Regions from separate parts of the Homo sapiens genome. Here region 1 is linked to region 2. Evidence: promoter capture Hi-C in 16 types of primary human blood cells and fetal thymus (Javierre and others, 2016). All regions are on one chromosome and are shown on one strand. The core of a region is centred on a gene start or on the middle of the fragment in contact, and the rest is flanking DNA. Distances in the headings are between cores, read along the strand shown. Region 1 overlaps SESTD1 (SEC14 and spectrin domain containing 1). Region 2 holds the start of CCDC141 (coiled-coil domain containing 141).

The links. Contacts are between HindIII fragments. The CHiCAGO score rates a contact against its expected background, and 5 or more counts as called.
Region 1: a fragment that was not itself captured here is called in contact with the fragment with the promoter of CCDC141 in region 2 in 2 of 17 cell types (total B cells and non-activated CD4 T cells); the score reaches 5.6 in total B cells.

The regions. Positions count from the first base shown.
Region 1 is chr2:179,116,056-179,119,149 of GRCh38, reverse strand. SESTD1 (SEC14 and spectrin domain containing 1) reads left to right here. Exons shown (of 18, transcript NM_178123.5): 14 at 1,537-1,618; 15 at 2,360-2,482. Among named protein-coding and RNA genes, the nearest start is that of CCDC141, 67 kb to the right of the region's middle. RefSeq lists an enhancer at 298-467. The HindIII fragment of the contact is 1,597 bases long and covers 636-2,232 here.
Region 2 is chr2:179,048,541-179,051,460 of GRCh38, reverse strand. It overlaps CCDC141 (coiled-coil domain containing 141), which reads left to right and starts at 1,324. Exons shown (of 24, transcript NM_173648.4): 1 at 1,324-1,621. The coding sequence starts at 1,520. RefSeq lists enhancers at 1,248-1,327, 1,338-1,587, 1,778-1,827. The HindIII fragment of the contact is 6,980 bases long and covers 1-2,211 here.

The sequences.
Region 1 (3,094 bases), core at 185-2,684, 68 kb before region 2:
TTCCTTCAGTGACTTCCTGTTTGCTCAGATGGAGTTTGTCTTCTTGGAATAATGTAGGAGACCCTTCATAATCCAATTCTTGCATAATTTTATCTTCTATAACATTCCCATAAAATCACACAGTTGTTTTTATCTCCCTGAAAGCATCATGCTGTTTCATGCATCCATGACTAAGAATACTTGTTTCCTTGTTTTCTGCTCAGTGAATTCCTACTTACTCTTCAAGACTCAGGGATACTTACTTTACTTTAGGAAGCCTTTTTGGACTTCTAAGGCAAGTTAGTCACTTGCTCCTCCCTACTCTCATAAAACATTTTAAATAGCTTTATAATAGTACTTATAACATCTCTGCAAATGGGAGCATCTTGATAGTAGAGACCATATCTTATATTTTCCCCAGCACACATTATCTAATACCTGAATACAGTATATGTATGATACCATCTTCATCAAAGTGGCCTACATTGTTTTTTAGTTTCATATTTAAAAAATAATTATCACTTCCCTTCAGTCCATTGTAGAATTACTTTAACCAAGTTGAATTTTAATGTCATGTTATAGCTTTTATTCAGAGCATCTTTATTTTTTTTTAAAAAAAAGCCTTGTGATACCTACTTCTATATTGTTATTAAGCTTTCTTTAAGGACATCAAGTATAGTAGAGCACAGTGTCTGGTAACATATTATCGGTATTTGAGACTGCAGTGGGAGTCCCCCATCCCACCTGCAGTACGCAGAATTTCATGGAAATGAAGGAAATGGACCAGAGTTAAGTTAGGTTAAGTTGCCTTAAAAATTTAAATGGTTATATTATCCAAAAAGACCACAATGAGATTAAAAAAATAATTTGAATTGTGTTTCTCTACACCCAGAGGTCAGTAGAGTTTTTTTGTTTTTTTAAGCCCTCCATCTAGTTTTTAAGAATGTAGATGGAGGGTTTTAAAAAAAATCAGAATTAAATATTATTTTAGGTACTATAATATAATGAAAAGCGTTAATGTTTAAATGTTTCTTTAGCTGGGCATAGTGATGCACACCTGTAGTCTTAGCTACTTGGGAGGCTGGGATGTGAAGATCATTTAAGCCCAGGAGTTTGAGGTTATAGTGAGCTATGATGGTACCACTGCACTCCAGCCTAGGTGCTTGAGTGAGACCTTGTCTCAAAAAAATATCATCCTGTATTTGAGAAACATTACACTTTTATCCTTGAAACTTGTTTGATGCTAAACAGCAATGGAGATTTTTTTTGGGTTTTAGTGTACTATTGTCCTTACATTTTGCTTTAATATTTTGCAGAATCCATGCTATCTTTAAGAGGGTTTGTCATTGAGTATCATTTGGGTATTTTGATGTTTTGATGTAACATTGATATAAATATCCCTAAAATTCTTACAAATCAATACAAAATACTTGCATTCTCCATTGTTTAGGACTAAGTATTTTAGTGTACTATAAAATACATGTACCAAATGATGATGTTACAATAGTAATCAATAAAACAGAAATGATGAGTTAAATTTATGTTTGGGTTCATTAGATGTGAAGACATGGTAGATGTGCGAAGGTTAAAGATGCTTCAGATGGTGCAGTTGTTTAAATGTGAAGAAGATGCTGCCCAGGTAAGGAGCAGTCAGCTACATTATGTAGTTAACTTTTCTTAGAAGATTGATTTTATCTAACTACAAACAAAAGTGTACTTTTCATGGTCCTAAAAAAGTAAATTCTTGAAGTCAGGTTCTAGTTTATCTATCTTGTTGAAGAATACACTTTGGTATTCCCAGCTAGTTGATTGATCTCATTTAACTTAATTTTCTCAATGAAATCCTCTATAATCCTCTATTGAGCTAGAGATTGGGATCGTTTATTATTTATTATTGTTGATTAGGTTGTCAGTTACATCCAGGATAAAATCTGGTGGAGCACACTGCATTTTGCTCTCTTGCATCTGCAAGAGAAATTTCAATACCAGATAAACAATTTGATATATTTTGTCGTTATCATCAGAGAACATCATTTCAGTTAGATATAGATAAAATTTTTGATTTTATGTAGTAACACAAATCTGTAATGCAATCCTGATGGATCTACATACAGAAATACATGATCTTTTATTATGTGATATTAATTTTAAAAGAATGCTTTTCTTCAGTATGTCTTGCCTTCAGATTTAAAGAATTTTGAGGAGTAGGACAGGTCATTAATTCATGTAGCTTATCATTGAATGAAATAAGCTTTTAAGACTTTAGGTTATAATTAACGGATTTATTAATCACATGATAGTAATCTCTGTATAAATGACATTTTGATACAATAAGTAAAGAGTTCTGAATCCAGCTTCATTGTTATGTCTTTTTGTTTAGGCAGTAGAATGGCTAAGTGAACTTCTGGATGCTCTGCTTAAGACTCACATCAGATTGGGCGATGATGCTCAAGAAACGAAAGTTTTGCTGGAAAAGCATAGAAAATTTGTTGATGTTGCACAGGTGCAAAACTGGTTATCTTCCTTTTCCACAAGCTCAGTGTTTGAATAGCTTTCTGCATGATTATAATGTAACTTTACCTTCCAAGTACAAGAAGGTTAGTTTTGTTATTCCAGAAGTGTCACAGAATTAAGAAAATGTCAGCTGGTGCATCAAAACTAGCCTGCATAAACTTGAGAGGGTTTACGTTTCCCTGAATACATGTTCTGCATGGTCCCTCTGATTTATGCTATGTATTACGGCATTTTTAAGGCAATCCAACTGTTCATCCACAGAAGTTAATATGAAATGGATGTTAATATCAGTAAATAAGAAACCTCACTTTCTGCATCACACTAGTGTTAGCATAATAATACAGAACTTTTTTGTGGTGAAAAGTGTCTTTTTTTTTTTTTTTAAGACACAGTCTTCCTCTGTTGCCCAGGCTGGACTGCAATGATGCAATCTCAGCTCACTGCAACCTCTGCCTCCCAGGTTCAGGCGATTCTCATGCCTCAGCCACCTGCGTAGCTGGGATTACAGGCACCGGCCACCACGCCTGGCTAGTTTTTGTCTTTTTAGTAGAGATGGGGTTTCACCATGTTGGCCAGGCTGGTCTTAAACTCCTGACCTCAA
Region 2 (2,920 bases), core at 75-2,574:
CTCGCTCCAATTGTTCCCTTCATGGGGTCAGGTGAAGTTCGTGTTGCATAGGGACTAGGATCTAGGTATGGTTTCCATCTCACTGGGGCAGCAGGCAGATGCTGAGCGCAGAGGACATGGGTGGTGGCTACACAGCTGCAGAGCAGCCATGACATGCTCTTGGAAACAAAAATAATTGAACACTGAAGTATGTGTAAAAGTACTTTTCCCCTTTGAATCAAGAATATGATCATGAACCTTAGCAAAACAAAGCAATGGAGCTGACTCAGTCTTCTAAACATTGGCCCTGAACCTGAACCTACTATTAAATTGGGCTAAAAGGTTTACAGAGCAAGTGGATTCATTAAAACTGTTTTTTGCTATATTCTCTGTTGTGGCTTTGTCCCAGAGATTTCCAATGCTTCCAGCAGCTTTGGAGTTAGTAACTCTGATATGTTTGCATCTGACTTCTGACCTAAACTTTAGTGTTATTTTCAGCTGTTCTTTGACAGGGAATCCAACAGCTGCTGTTTAATACCACAGACAACTTGTGACACAGGCTGAGTTTCTAGCAATAGGATTAATCTACCAATGTGGGGCACTGATTTGAAGCTGGCTATAATTTTCCTGAACAGGAGGTGGGGGTAGGGAATAAAAAGCCTGAAGCACAGTACTTTCCTTTTTGTTTTTGTTTTTAATTGCAGCAAAATATATGTCTTAATAACTTTTAACCACACAGAAAACATTTTCTTGCTGCAATTAAAAGGTAACAGCAAAGTATTTTGCTTTCTCATGGTATTAATAACTGAACTTGAAAACCTTGTCCAATGGAGCAGAATAGTCACAAAGAAAATCTGAAATGATAGGCACCTATTTATAAATGCTGGTTGAAATATTTTTTAAAAATTCCTAAGAAATCTGAGGCTCTGAGAAAATGTGGCTATTCCATCTAAACTTCATTTAGCAAAGAACAGTAAGTTTTAGAAAAGCAGATTAATCTAAAAATGTGTTTTAAGCAATTTGTGACTTAACCCCAAGACAAATACCAAAACTTTTTTAAAGTACACTTTGGTAGTTCTCTTTGCATCAGAGAGATTTCAAAAATCTTGAAAAGATTGATAACCAGGTCAAAGACTTACTTGTTTCAAAGTCCATGGTTACAATGGCATAGTTTCGGTGGCAAAACTAATTTGGGTTGTCAGGATGTAATTTTTTTTTCCATTTGTTATCAAACATCAGCTGATAAGGAAAGAGCTTGAAGCTGTCCTCCACATTTAAGATAACAGCAAAAATAACAGGCACTTAGTGTCACCATACTAGGGGCGTGGCAATTCTCTCTCGTTCGCTCCTTTCTCTCTCACGATAAACTCAATGGGGTTGTCTATTTTTAACCTCCTGTTCTTTCCTTTTGGCAGAGTAATCAGTGTGAGCTGAGCTCTTTCCCTGAATGAATCCAAGTAACCCTGGCCTTCTGAAATGACCAGCAGACACACAACTGTCCAGAGGCTGCCCAAAGTATAAACTCTGGTTCTAAAGTACCATGTCCAGCCAAGGAAGTCCTAGTGTTGCGCTTTCTACGACGACAGTCAGTTCAGTTGCTGTGCAGGCTGGGGACTCCAAAATCGTTATAGCTGTCATAAAGGTAAGCTAACAACTTCCTTTTTTCTGTGCGGCTGTGGGCTTCTAGCTGTGTGTTGAAAACCCTAAAGAACATTCCATGCAATCGGCAGGACACAGCATAGAGAAGACAACGCAGCAAGCACTCTTACTGCTTTCTAAAATGGGCTACTAAGAGAAACCTCTACAAGTTTCAGCAGTTACCAGAGATTCTCTTTCCTTTCAGTCAGCCAGAAAGCATCTATAGCAGCTTGATTTAAAAAAAAAAAAAAAAAGAAAAGAAAGAAAAATAAAGAAAAGAAAACCTCTAGCATATACTGTCAATTTGGTCTTTAAAAGCAAGGCATTGGTAACTGGAAGTTCATGATTGCCTGACTAAAGAGTCCAATGGACCTGTGGAATGCTTGTGATTTTTGAGAGTGGATGTGATGGAGGTGGGAGGAGGCAGGTCCCGACAGACAGGGGGAGGGCACTGCTTTAAGCACGATGGAACTCAGAAAACACCAAGTAAAGGGCTCCGACATGTGCCCTTTGCCACACTGGTTTTGACATGGTAAAGAAACTACTAAATCCTTGTCCAGTAACGAAGACCATGCAAGGAAAGGTACAAAAGCTTTGTGTCAAATTTGCTCTTAACAGCAGGAAGTAGAAGCCACTTAGGGTTTACAATTACTGCATGTTTTATGACAACCCATTTGCCCATTTGCAAAGATGACCACACATCTTTAGGCTGAAGAAGAACTCCATGATTTTATTCTCCATGGAAATGCCCTGTAAAAAAAAGCTTTCAAGCACTAGGCTTGGGCTTTAGATGATATTCCACCTAAATAATTCAGTGTTTAATGAAGGGAAAGCTGGCAAACAAGCTGATGGTCACAAACCAGTTACTTTCAGGTCCCCACCAGGTTTAATTGAATGACTTTTCTGGCCTTTTGTTAGAGCATGGACAGCAAGCCATGTTTACTTTAACTTAATTGCTGTGAATTTTATGGTAATGTGAAAATTCATACCAGGAAAAGAGCACTTGATACTGAGCAAAACAGTTCACTATAGAAGGACAGAATGGAAAGTATTCCTGCCGAGGTGGATTTTCTGGTGTTGTGAGACTTCTCTCCCACAGGAACCAGGCCTCTGCTGACTTCCTCACCCTCCCATCTTTTCAGAGTCCCAGAGAGGAGATGAAAAGAAGCCTGATGCAGAAGTAGGGCAAACAGATCATTTGCACGGGATTAATGATACTTTGAGTTAACTGCAGATTTCAGCAATGAGGGAAAAGAGGCAAACTCACTATTTTTCAAAAAGTTAACTTTCCATTTCCTCAAAT